Linked DNA regions of Homo sapiens: region 2 is linked to region 1. Evidence: promoter capture Hi-C in human tissues and cell types (Jung and others, 2019). All regions are on one chromosome and are shown on one strand. The core of a region is centred on a gene start or on the middle of the fragment in contact, and the rest is flanking DNA. Distances in the headings are between cores, read along the strand shown. Region 1 holds the start of PABPC1L (poly(A) binding protein cytoplasmic 1 like). Region 2 has its middle 13 kb from the start of LINC01260.

The links. The method cuts DNA at HindIII sites, captures the fragments that hold promoters and counts their contacts. A contact is called where the count stands out against the background at its distance.
Region 2: a contact is called between a fragment that was not itself captured here and the fragment with the promoter of PABPC1L in region 1, in 1 of the 25 tissues and cell types used here (bladder).

Annotation. Positions count from the first base shown.
Region 1 is chr20:44,907,724-44,914,362 of GRCh38, forward strand. It overlaps PABPC1L (poly(A) binding protein cytoplasmic 1 like), which reads left to right and starts at 2,337. Exons shown (of 15, transcript NM_001372179.1): 1 at 2,337-2,613; 2 at 4,937-5,130. The coding sequence starts at 2,421. YWHAB (tyrosine 3-monooxygenase/tryptophan 5-monooxygenase activation protein beta) reads left to right here. Exons shown (of 6, transcript NM_139323.4): 6 at 1-809. RefSeq lists a silencer at 2,191-2,520. The HindIII fragment of the contact is 11,748 bases long and covers 1-6,639 here.
Region 2 is chr20:44,681,170-44,687,808 of GRCh38, forward strand. No RefSeq gene overlaps it. Among named protein-coding and RNA genes, the nearest start is that of LINC01260, 13 kb to the left of the region's middle. RefSeq lists silencers at 2,418-2,477, 4,079-4,198. The HindIII fragment of the contact is 5,388 bases long and covers 1,443-6,639 here.

The sequences.
Region 1 (6,639 bases), core at 1,087-3,586:
ATTACTGAGCACCTTGGTGAGCAAGCCTGGCTTTAAAGATTGGAGAAGAGCTTCTGGCACCAGAACCCTGTCTTCCTCCAGTTCTCAACACGGTGTTGCTCTTCAGTCATACCGGAATCTGAATCAAAAAAGTATTTTTAAATATCCATGATTTCTCCCTGTATTGAGGCTAGCCCTGATCATGCTTTTTGTGCCTGTCACCAGGTCTCCCAAGTGCACTCATCCAGGTCAGTGCTCAGATGTGTTTAAGGAGACCCTATATTCAGGGAAGTTGCGTGAACACTGCAGTGGGGAGAATTGAGAATAGTCAGGCCTATCAGTCTCACAGAATCACCCCTCTACCTTTGATATTCCACTTAGCTGTAGAGTCCATCTGTTTGTCCATCTGCTGAAATGAGAAAAGAAAAATTTATGCACTGATTTAAAACAAACCAAAAAAAAAGAAAAAAACAAAAAAAAAAATCCCTCCTTTCTAGCTGAACAAAAATGTGCAGTTAATACTTGGCGCTTGAAAATGCAGTAGTGAATGTGGAACCAAGCCTGTCTGTATATCTGGTAGCTCTTTTCTTGCTTTGTTTTTTCTTACCAGTATTCTGCCTAACGTTTGCTTCTGTGATGGTTATATTGCCTAGCAAGCACACCCGTGGTTGTGAAAATAGTATAGCAAAAAAGAAAAATCCCCGGTTATTGATGTACTAGATTTGTGTATGTCTTTTAAACAGTTCTAGTTTCACCTTACACAGAATAATCAGGAAAAGTGTAAAAATTCAAAAGTGAAATAAAAATTTTATCAGTTAGTTGCCTGTGAATTGATGTGTCACCACCATCTCTGTTGTTACCAGACCTAGCTAACTATTCTGATCACACTTATTTTTAACTCTGTTTTCTTTAAAAATAGGCAAACAGTTTTATTTCATTATTTAGGACCAGAAGTCAAGGTGTTATCCAGGGGAAGAAATTACCATTAATTAAACAGCCTCTTTACACCCGTTACTTGATACCTCTCTACCTTCCACAACAAACCATGCAGGTATTAGGTCCTCTTTAGTGACTTCTAAGATTTGGTATGGACAGTTATTTTGCATTGTATTCGAGCCCACCATCCCTTCCCCATTTTTTAACTCTGAGATACAACCAAGCCAGTGAAATAGGTAACCTATGGTTGCATAAGTCTTGGTCATCACCAAGCTGGCGTCTCACCTGTCCTCACACTGTATGGTGGCCTGCAGAGCTGGTTCCTCACAGGATTTGCCCCTTCTGAAAACATCCACATTACCACAAGGAGAGAAAAATATCAGGATAGAGGGGTCTTTTTTAGCCCAAGATTAGAATTAGTGCTTCCTTGCTACTCTGAGGCTGGACAGCCAGATGGGCACCTTCTGTCCCTAGTTTAGGAGCTGTTCCACCTGTTGAAGCCACACTCAACCAAAAGTCAGTGGGGGCCTACCTGCTCTGTTGGATCAGTGAGACCAGGAAAGTCCTATCAGAGGAAAAGTGAAGTATTGGTGCTCAGTGGAGTAGTTGTTTTGTTTTTGTGTTGTTTTTAATGTCCCTATACCACAGATTGACGCTGCAAGCTCAGATTCACAGTCTTGCTCTGTTTAGGTCTTGCTCTGCTATTAGTTCCCAATTGTCCGCATTTAGGCTGAGCCACAAGTAACTCAGTGAACCTCCCTGGTGTAATGGATGTGTAATGGCTTAGCAGAGGGACAGGGAATATCCCAGGAAAAGGGGTCTTGGTAATATGAGCCAGTACCAAGAAAGGCCTTAGTGGTCTCCAGTTCTCATGTCTCAAAGCCATTTCCATCCTTGGTGCGAAACGGTGGGACTGGATCAGGCTCTCTGGAGGAAGACATCTTCAATGGAGCAGGGTAAAATTCTCTACACAAGCTTTGAAACAGTGGCCTGTTCGGAATTCCGTTTGTGTGTGAAACGCAAAAAGCGCGGTTTGGGTCTCCTTTCATTCTTGTCAGGAGGGAATCATTCCCATTTTACAGAGAAGGGAAACGGGTTCAGAAAGATGATCATCTGTTCCGGGGTTAGAACTCAGTCCCCTGCGTCCTTTCCGTCCCAGTCCTCGGCTCTTTCAAAAGAGCTGGGGGTTTTGAGAGCTCCACTCAAGTCCCAGCAGCCCTGCTCAAGGCCAGGTTGAAGGCTTTTTCCGCCTCCCAGGGCGGGGTCAGAGGTGTCCCCACCTGTAGCTTTTAGATCCCCAAGTGCTCGCAGGTGGGGGGTGGGCCCAGGAGGGATCCCGGGGGAGGGGCGTCCGAGCGCGCCCACGATTGGTGCGCAGGGACGCGGGGGCGGTAAAGGGAAGGGGCGGGCCCGCGCCCAGGAAGGAGGGCTTCCGCCCGGGTGAGCGCGGGGCTGCTGGGTGACCCGGCTCCTGCTTGCCCCGCAGCCCCGGCCCCCTGCCCACCATGAACGCCAGCGGTTCTGGCTACCCGCTTGCCTCGCTTTACGTGGGCGATCTGCACCCCGACGTGACCGAGGCCATGCTCTATGAGAAGTTCTCTCCCGCCGGCCCCATCCTGTCCATCCGCGTGTGCCGCGATGTAGCCACCCGGCGCTCGCTGGGCTACGCCTACATCAACTTCCAGCAGCCCGCGGACGGTGAGCCCCGGGGATGGGGCGGGAGGGGAAGGACCGACGGACAAGCAGGCGGACAGACAGAAGCCGGAACTGGGCCGCTTGCGCTTTCATCTTACACTTTGCAGCCGGGGAAACTGAGGCTCAAAGATAACAGGGCGTTGGCAGAGGCCTGGCCCCTGAGACGGGAATTGGTAATTAGTGTGGTTTACTGCTATTCCTCTACAGAGGAGAGAGATTAGGGTCGAGTGAAAACAGATACAGGCTTTGTGGGGGTGGGGGTGGGGGTCAGGCGGACCAGGGATAGAAGCCCAGCAGCCGTGTGACTCTGGGCAAGTTACTCGACCATTCTGAGCTTCAGATGCGTGTCTGGAAAATGGGGGTCCTAGCTGCCTTATAGAGTGCTTGTGAGGATGAGAGATTCAAAGCACCTGGTGAGGAAGATGCCCAAGGCAACACAGCTGGTGAGCAGGGGAGGCAGGAGAACCCAGCCTTGGGCTCAGGCCTTTCCCAGCGCGACGTGAGATCCACACTGGGCGCCTCTACCTGCACGGGCTCTGAAAAACCGCTGCCTCCAGGCCGCAAGGCCGCTTTCTCAGAGCTGATAGCATTGATTAGAGCTTGTCCGATGAGTTTGCCTGCACTTCTGTTGAGAGTGGAGAGGATGAGTGAGCTTGGGCAAGCCTTCACGCTCTGCACCTTTTCATCTGCAAAATGGGGCTAAGGCGTATTCTCCAATAACATAAAGAATGGAGAACTGCTGTCTATGCATAAAGAATGGTAACTGCTTGTTACCTCGTAAACGCTCTTAAGTGGTAACCTAAAATAAATAAATAAATAAATAAATAAATAAATAAATAAATAAATAAGGCCAGGCGCAGTGGCTCACGCCTGTAATCCCAGCATCTTAGGAGGCCGAGGTGGGCAGATCACTTGAGGTCAGGAGTTCGAGACCAGCCTGGCCAACATAGCGAAACCCTTTCTCTACTAAAAATACAAAAAATAGCTGGGCATGATGGCGGACGCCTGTAATCCCAACTGCTGGGGAGGCTGAGGCACGAGAATCGCTTGAATCCGGGAGGCAGAGGTTGCAGTGAGCCGAGACTGCGCCATTGCACTCCAGCCCGGGCAACAGAGCGAGACTCCATCTCAACACAAAACAAAACAACAAACAAAAAAGAAACAACAACGAAAATAGTGGCTTTAACATTCTGATGTAAGACTCCAGAAACTCACCCAAAAAATGGCCGGCGTCCACTAGAGGGATCCCTTGCGCCAGGTCGCCTGGGTGAACCTGGTGGTTGCCTGAGTGGGTGGTTTGCTAGGGAAGGGGTTGTTCCGCCGGGCCTGTTCCCCGCCCCTTACTGGGCTGGATTCCTGGGCACTTTTCTGTTTGTTCTGCTTTGCTCCACCTCCTGCCTCTTCCCATCTTCCTCCAAGCCCTGTGAATGAAGTGGGACTCGGCCTGGAAACCGTGCTGCAGAGAGAAGGGTTTTGCCCCAGGTATTTATGATAAGACTAGGTGGAGAATCCGGGCTTCCTGAAACTTGCTCCACTGTGTTCCCCACAGCCCCCTTCCATGTCTCTGCACTAGCAGACTCCCTGAAACAGGTCACGTGTATCACCCAGGAGAGACACAGGCTGCAGCAGTGGCCGGAGGCTGGGCATCGGCTGCTGTTTTGAGACATTATTTTGTGTCAGGCACAAAGTTACAAACAAGGCACTTTTACATACCTTCTTTATTTTTCAGTCCCTCCAACAACCTGGTAGTTGGTAGTATCTCCCTTTGTTAGGTGTGGAAAAGTAGGTAATATTACCATCATTCCCCCTTTACAGGTGAGGAACAGGCTCAGAGAGGTAATGTCCACTTTCCCCAGAGCCGGACTGCTTGAGATCTAACCTCAGCTCTGCCCTGCAGCACCTCTGAGTTTTAATTTCCTCAAAGTGCTGCCACCCCTTGTCATATGGACATTGTTATCCACTCAGTGTACTTTAGAATCCAGAATAGACCTGACGCTGCCACAGACCTTTCATGTTTCTTATTCTCAGTTTTCCCATCTGTAAAATGAGGGGCAGGAATCCATGCTCATGTGGCTGCAGGGAGTTGGTTGAATGAGATCATAACTGGAAGGTTGGGGGAGCACCATACACACTAATTCTCAGCTTATCCTTCCTGAGCCTTTGGGCTCTTATCTCAGTTATTTGGGCTCTTATCTTGGCTTATTGTCTGGGACCCAGACAATGACTTTCTCTTTATTGGCTCCCAGTTAAGCACCTCGAGGGGTGGGTGATCAAGGTAAGAAAATTCCCTAAACTTGCTAATTTCTCTCCTCTTCCTTCTGTCCAGCGGAGCGGGCACTGGACACAATGAACTTTGAGATGCTCAAAGGCCAGCCTATTCGCATCATGTGGTCCCAGCGAGACCCAGGACTTCGCAAGTCAGGTGTGGGCAACATCTTCATCAAGAACCTGGAGGACTCCATTGACAACAAGGCTTTATATGATACCTTCTCCACCTTTGGGAACATCCTCTCTTGCAAGGTAGAGGATGAAGGGTGTACGTCTTTGGGTAGATCGGTGTCAACTACCTGCCTGGTAGAGGGGTGACAAGCAACACCTCACTTTACAGTTTACAAGGTCCTTTCAGTCAAGTTTCAGGTACAGCAAGCACCTGAATGACAGCCGTTCTTTCAGTTTCATCTTCCGTGAATGACCAGACATTACCTGTGTATCAGTCAGCTCTCGCTGTGTAACCACCTTCAAATTTAGTGGCCGTCAACAACAATCATTTATTTAGCTAATAATTCCACAGTTGGCAATGGGCAAAGTTCAGCTGGGCAGTTCTTCTGGTCTTGGCTGGGTTCCCTCCTATGCCCACTGAAAGCTGAGTGGGAGCTCTCGCTGGGTATATGAGGGAGCGACTGGCTGTCAGCTGGAACATCTTGGCTTTCCTCCCTATGGCCTTTTGTCCTCCAGTAGGCTAGTCCAGGCTATTCTCATGGTATTCTCATGGCAATGGCAGGGGCTCAGAAGACAAGAGTGGAAGCACACCAGGCCTCTTGAGAACTAAATGCAGAACTGGAACCATCACTTCCACTACGTTTTTTTTTTTTAATTGAGATGCAGTCTTACTCTGTTGCCTAGGCTGGAGTACAGTGGCATGATCTCAGCTTACTGCAACTTCCTGGGTTCAAGCCTCCTGAGTTCAAACGATTCTCCTGCCTCAGCCTCCCGAGTAGCTGGAATTACAGGTGCGAGCCACCATGCCTGGATAATTTTTGTATGTTTAGTGGAGACAGGGTGGGTTTCACTGTGTTGGCCAGGCTGGTCTCGAACTCCTGACCTCCCAAAATGCTGGGATTACAGCCATGAGCCACCGCACCTGGCCTCTTTCACTACATTCTATTGACCAAAGCAAGTCACAAGACCAGCCCACATTCAGAGTGAGAGGGGAGTAGAAATTATAGGATGAAGGGTGTGGCTACAGGAAGGCCATTAATTGGGGCCATCAAGGCAATTAAGTTATTGAATCTTGTTTTTAAGATTGTCTTACATTAGATGTAAGTTCCATCAGTGATCTTGTTCTTAGTCATTATTGTATCCCAATACTTAGAATAAGATGTGAAACATATTAGGTGCTCAATAAATATATGTTGAGCCAGTGGAGGTATGTCATTTGAGAAGGATTCTGATTATTTCTCTGACTTTTTATATGAGGATGTTGAGGATCAGCGGCCATATAGCAGGTCAGTATGTCTGGAACAGAGGGCTTAAACCTGGGTGTTCTGTCTCTAGATTTTATAAGGATAGTTGATCAGTTACCCCGTAGCCTTTGGAGTGTCTGCTATTCTAGGGAGGATGGGGACAGTTTTTGTAGCCTATGTGTCAGAACTTTTTTTTTTTTTTTTTTTTGAGACGGAGTCTCACTCTGTTGCCCAGGCTGGAGTGCAGTGGCGCGATCTCAGCTCACTGCAACCTCCTCCTCCCAGGTTCACGCCATTCTCCTGCCTCAGCCTCCTGAGTAGCTGGGACTACAGGTGCCCGCCACCA
Region 2 (6,639 bases), core at 2,887-5,386, 220 kb before region 1:
TGGGCTGGGCGTGGTGGCTCATGCCTGTAATCTCAGCACTTTGGGAAGCCAAGGTGGGCAGATCACTGGAGGTCAGGAGTTCAAGACCAGCCTGGCCAACATGGTGAAAACTCATCTCTATTAAAAATACAAAAATTACCCTGTCATGGTGGTGCATGCCTGTAATCCCAGCTACTCAGAAGGCTTAGGCAGGACAATCGCTTAAACCTGGGAGGCGGAGGTTGCAGTGAGCCGAGATTGAGCCACTGCACTCCGGCCCAGGCGAGAGAGTCAGACTCCATCTCAAAATAATAATAATAATTATAATAACTATAAAGACCAGCTATCATATGGAAAATGTCCCTGATGTGTGAACAAATGCAGGATGGAAAAATACTCAGTGTAGTCATTTTAGCTAATATATATTTGTTAAAACATCCAAATATTTTTTTCGAGCTCGGCGCTGTGTGCCAAGCTCCATGCTGGCTCATGGACAAAGTCAGGAAAAGAACAAGCAAAAATGAAATTCCTTCTTGTGTCGGGAGTGGTGGGGTTTTGGGGGACAGGTATCTCCCCTTCCCCATGTTTTCTTCTCAAACTTCCTCCACTGTTGTTATATTACCTTTGCAGTGATAAAACCAAGAGAACAGAAGAAATACTTCTGGACCTAAGGATGAAAGAATGATGGGAGAAACATTTCTTGAGCCAGTCCCTTTCTGCGTTCTTATTTTGTGGAATCCGCACACATCCCCGAGAAGCTTAATAAAAAGGGCTACTATCATGACACTTACTGTGTGCCTTGCCGGTTCCACCTGTTAGGTGCCATTGTTGTCCCCATTTTACAGATGAGGAAACTGAGGCGGGGCAAGGAGATGCCCTTCTGCTTGGTGGTCTATCCTTCAGCATTACCCACACACATGCAGAGCTACATATAAGCTCACGTTCACACTCGGATTCACGTCTGCACCCATGGGCACATGGAGGATCGCACAAGCCACACTCAGACACACATGTGTGCTCACACACAGGGCTGCCCATGTCCACAGGTATGTGCATGGGGACACGCATGTATATATGTGCATATTCCCATATGCACACAGCACAGGTCAAACACTTTTGGACACACATCTGCCTGAGAATGGGAAAAGGGGTGCAAGATAAAGGGGCAAAGTCTGGCTTTTGCCTCCTCCCTGCACCTGCTACCAGCTGTGTGCAGGACTGGGTGGGGCAGAAATAGGTGGCTCTGAGCTCAGAGGGCAGAGGTGGCCTTGCACTAGAAATCCACCTGCCAAACTTCCAAATGGGCTACAGCGACTAAGGGGCCTCACCTGCTGGGCAAATCCCCCAGCTGGAGGGTGTGCTCCAGATCCTCCAGGGGTCCCCAGGGGGTTGAGAAGATGAGGGGCACACCCAGCAGCCCCTAAGGGAGGAAGCGTGGCCATACTGGCTAAGGGGGCGCACTCTTCTTGCAGGCCGCCTGATCAGATGCCTGTAAAATAAGACAGCTTTACAAAGAGGGTGTCGGAATGTGAGGAGGCAGAGGGACAGGCATGAGTAGAAAGACCTTCCTCAGGACCTGAAGTCCAATGATCCTGGTCCTGCGTCCCACTAGCTAGGTGATATTGAACAAGTCACATAACCTCTTTGAACCTCAATTTCCTCATTTGTAAACTTTGCACAAATCATTTCTTTGACTGCTAAACAAGTATGTTTTGAGGACCAACGACATGCCAGGTACGGTGCTGGGCACTGGGAAAACAGCAGCAAGCAACACAGACATGGGCTTGCCGTGTAGAGCCTGCAGAATTAGGGAAAGGATAAATGGAAACATCTCACACATAGTAAGTGCTCAGTTACGTTCCTCCTGGTCTCTCTTTTCTACCATTGTAAAGGCGATGCAATAACATAGAAAGTTGGGAGAATGGGGTGGCGGTTGCTGAGGGGGGAACTCTGTCATCCAGAATCCCACCACCCCAACACAATGACTAGCTTCATTTTTGCCAATTTCATCAGCTCATGCAGGGGTTGACCTGCTGTAGGGCACTCAAAATATTCAAACCAATTAATGCATTGCATTTGTGATCAGAAGAAAAAAGCTAATTACAATGTAACAGATTTACCTGATGCAAAGCAACGCAAGCATGGCCATCCCTCTGCATATATGGAAGCTTTTCCTTTTGGGGGAAACAGCAATATTTCCATTTTACGGAAAAAGAAATGGAGGCACAGAGAGGTCAAGGCACTTGCCCAAGGTCACACAGACAGAAATGCGAAGAGCAGCTCCAGAGGCCAGAACTCCTGCCCATCCTGTCCAGGACTGTGGGATGCATCCAGGGACGGACACTGGGGCTGTGGGCTGGATGACTTGGCTGCCTTTGCATTGATTGGAGCTGTTTAGGGAACCTACCCCAGCCACTAGCATCCAGTCCTAGAGACACAGAAAATTCACTGGCCAGCCTCACTTTTGAGCCCAGAAACCCCTTACCCTTCCTCCTGCCTCTTGAGAGGCCAGTGTTAGGTGTTAGCCGGGGTGCAAAGCTCTGGAAGGCAGGTTTCTGCTTTCTGCTGCCCTCCAGTGGGCAAAGAAAGCAAACCTCTGGATCCATCTGGAAGCAGGTAGCAGGTGTTGCCCAAGTCAGCTGCGGCTAATAGTAATAATAATGGCTGCCGCTCAATGAGCACTTACCACGTGCAGACGTTTTTACACCTAATCTAATGTAACCTAACCCCTTTAAGCAATTTAATTAACATTTAATTCCTCTCTCAAGGTAGGAATCACTTCCTATATACCCATTTACATACATAATCTGAGACTTAGAAAAATGACTTCCCAAAGTCACAAAGCTGGTCAGTGGCAGAGCCGAGAGTGCAAGTCCTTGGAGATCAGAGGAGGAAGAGACCATGATCCTGGACCAGGAGACAGCCCTGCATTCTTGGGCACAGAGGTGAATTTACTGTGAGGCTGGTGACGCATCAGGGCTCCTGACTTGCATGTCCTCTCCCAGGGCCATGGAGGAACTTTCCAACGCATTCGCATGGGCATATGTTTCACATTTGCAAAACTAACACATTTCAGTTGCAATTGGCTGAGACCACTATCTCTCTCCACTGCCTAGAATAATGTCTTCACATAGTAGGTAATAAATATGTGCTAATAAATCCATTTTGTGTTTAATAAATCATGTTGAATGAATGGGTAGAGAAATGAAGGAAGGAAGGAAGTGGCATTTAGTTCAATCTTGAAGGAAGGGCAGGATTTGAGAGAGCGTTCCTCATGTAGCCTAGTGGGCCCCTCCACACACAGACCATCCAAGGCCATGAGTGGCCTTGAATGCCAGGGTGAGGAATCTGGCCTTAGGTGGTAGGCACTGGGGAGCCATGGAAGGTTGCAGAGCAGAGGAAGGATATGAGTGTAATTGTCAATTAGGCAAGAGTTGAATGTCAAATAAGAGGACAGGGCCCTACAGCGGGGGGCCAGAGTGGCTCAGATAAAACTCCCCTCATCCAGCACCACACAGAGAGCTGGTGCTCAGCCAGTGTGATCACAGAAGCCTCTGCTGGGGTGTCTATAAGCTCCCTGGAAGAAGATATCCAAATGCTTTGCATGTGTGGCTTTGTGTATGTGTGTGTGTGGGGGGGGGAGGGGAGGTGCTGAGTGTGGATTTGCTCAGCACTCTAGTGTGCCCAGCCCAACGTGGGGGAAAGGTCAAGGCCCTGTCTGGCTTAGGCAGGGAGTTCTCAGCATTGCAGTATGACTGAGCCTCTGGCTGGAAAGTAAGGGAGCCAAGAGAAAACAGGTTTAGAAGTTGGCTAGGCAGAAGTGGACCTATGAAATTCCAGCTGCACCAGCTGCTTCTTTTGCTAAGCTCCCGTCATCCTTTCTCTCTCTCCACTGGGTCTTTCTGAATGTCAAGAATCCCAGCCACTGTTTAGTTAGCACTTGTTTTTTGCCACACTCTGTGAAGCACCTTCAAGCCCGATCACCGGATTATTCCTCCAACAACGCCGAGAGTGAGAAGAATGGCTATTATTTCGATTTTATAGGTGAGGAAGTAGAAAGCCCAGAGAGGTGAAGTTGCTTACCTGAGGTCACATAGGAGTCAATGGTATACGTGAGATCAAACCCAGACTCCAGAGGCAGCCCCCCTCAGTCGCCAGCCGTCCTGCCTCCTCTCCTGGTCTAAGCTGGGGAGGAAAAACCCATCTTGGCCAGCAGGGGGCGGTGTGCCCTCAAGGATAAGCCCTGCTTCCCAGAACTCAGACAGAATTTGCCAGCAAGACAACAGCACGATTCTGAAATATCTGGCTTTGAGCCCTCATTTAGTCCCAACTCTGGTGGGGCCTGGAGAACGGGGAGAGGGGTGAGAGAAGTATAAAATAGCCCTCAAATTGGTGAGCCAATGGTTCACAGAAAGGAAAGCGCAGCGGCATTTTAACATATAAAAAGATTCTCATTTTCACTCCTAGGAAGAGAAACGTGTTAAACCCACACCACCTGAGCAGGCACTGTTTTGCTATCAAACTGGCAAACTTATGCAGGTGGGGATATGGAGACACACTCCTTCTTACATTGTTGGTGGGATTAAAACTTGGTTTTGGCCAGGTGCGATAGCTCACACCTGTAATCCCAGCACTTTGGGAGGCCGAGGAGGGCGGATCACCTGAGGTCGGGAGTTCAAGACCAGCCTGGCCAATATGGCGAAACCCTGTCTCTACTAAAAATACAAACATTAGCTGGGTGTGGTGGCACACGCCAGTAGTCCCAGCTACTCGGGAGGCTGAGGCAGGAGAATCACTTGAACCCAGGAGGCGGAGCTTGCAGTGAGCTGAGATCTCGCCATTGCACTCCATCCTGGGCAACAGAGTGAGACTCCATCTCCAAACAAACCAAAAAAAAAAAAAAAAAAAAACCAGAAAAGAAAACTTGGTTTAACACCTATAGAAGCTAATCTGGTAACATCTATCAAAATTAAAAATGCACATATCTAACAGGTATGCATGATACATTCATCAAAAGACTTGAACTAGACCTGCATGATCTGATGTGGAGCCACCCACCACATGTGGCTGCTGAGTCCTTGAAATATGGCTGATCCAAGCCTGGCTGACATGGCAAAACCCTGTCTCTACTAAAAATACAAAAATCAGCCAGGCGTGGTGGCACGTACCTGTAGTTCCAGCTACTTGGGAGGCTGAGGCACAACAATTGCTTGAACCCAGGGGCGGAGGCTGCAGTGAGCCAAGATCGTGCTACTGCACTCCGGCCTGAGCAGCAGAGCGAGACAGTCTCAGAAAAAAGAAAGAAATATGGCTGGTCAAATTGAGATGTGCTGCAAGTGTGAAATATATATGGGATTTTGTATACTAACAAAAATGCAAAATGACTCCTTAATAACTTGCTAATATTGATGATGTGTCGCAATAATATTTTGGATAGATTGGATTAAGTAATTTTTATTTTTGTTTTTTATTTTTTTGAGACGGAGTCTCACTATGTCGCCCAGGCTGGAGTGCAGTGGCATGATCTTGGCTCACTGCAACCTCTGCCTCCCGGATTCAAGTGACTCTCCTGCCTCAGCCTCCTGAGCAGCTGGGACTACAGGCACCTGCTACCACCCGTAGTTAATTTTGTTTTGTATGTTTAGTAGAGATGGGGTTTCACCATGTTGGCCAGGCTGGTCTCAAACTCCTGACCTCAAGTGATCTGCCCACCTCAGCCTCCCAAAATGCTGGGATTACAAGCATGAGCCACTGTACCTGGCCTGGGTTAAGTAATTTTTAAAATTACTTTTACCTATTTCTTTTTCTTTTTTGAATGTGGCTGCTAGAAATATACATGGCTTGCATTGTGGATCATATTATATATTTTTACCTTTTTATTGTGGTAAGATATGCATAACATTTACCATTTGGACCATTTTTAAGGGTCCAGAAGTTCAGCTGTGTTAAGTACATTCCCATTGTTGCGCAACCATCACCATCATCTACCCCCAGAGCGTTTTCATCTTCCCAAACTGACACTCTGCCTCTATAAAACAACAACTCCGCTTGCTCCTCTCCTCCCAGCCCCTGGCAGCCACTATTCTACTTTCTGTCTCTGTGAACTGGACTATTCTAGGTTGCCTCATACGGGAGAAATCATATACAATTTGTCCTTGGTTGCTGGCTTATTTCACTCAGTATAGTGTCTTCAAGGTTCACGCATGTTGTAGCATATGTCAGACCTTCCTTCCTTTTTTAAGACTGAATAATGTTCCATTGTAAGGATATACCACATTTTGTTTATCCATTCATTCACTGATGGGCATTTCGGTTGTTTCCACTTTTGGCTATGGTGAATAGTGCTGCTGTGAACATTTTGGTACAAATATCTGTTTGACTCATATTTTCAGTTCTTCTGTGTCTATCATATTTTATTGGACAGGACTATGCCAGTGATCTCCATAGCCACATAATTTGAAATATCCCTAAACCAGGAACTACCCAAATGCTCATCGACAGCAGAACGGATAAATTGTGGTATCTTCATACAATGCAATACTCCAGTGAGAATGAAAATGAATGAACAACTACACACAGCAGTGTAGATGGAACTTGCACACATATGTGTCGAGCAAAAGAAGCCACACGCAAAATAATACATATTGTGTGATTCCACTC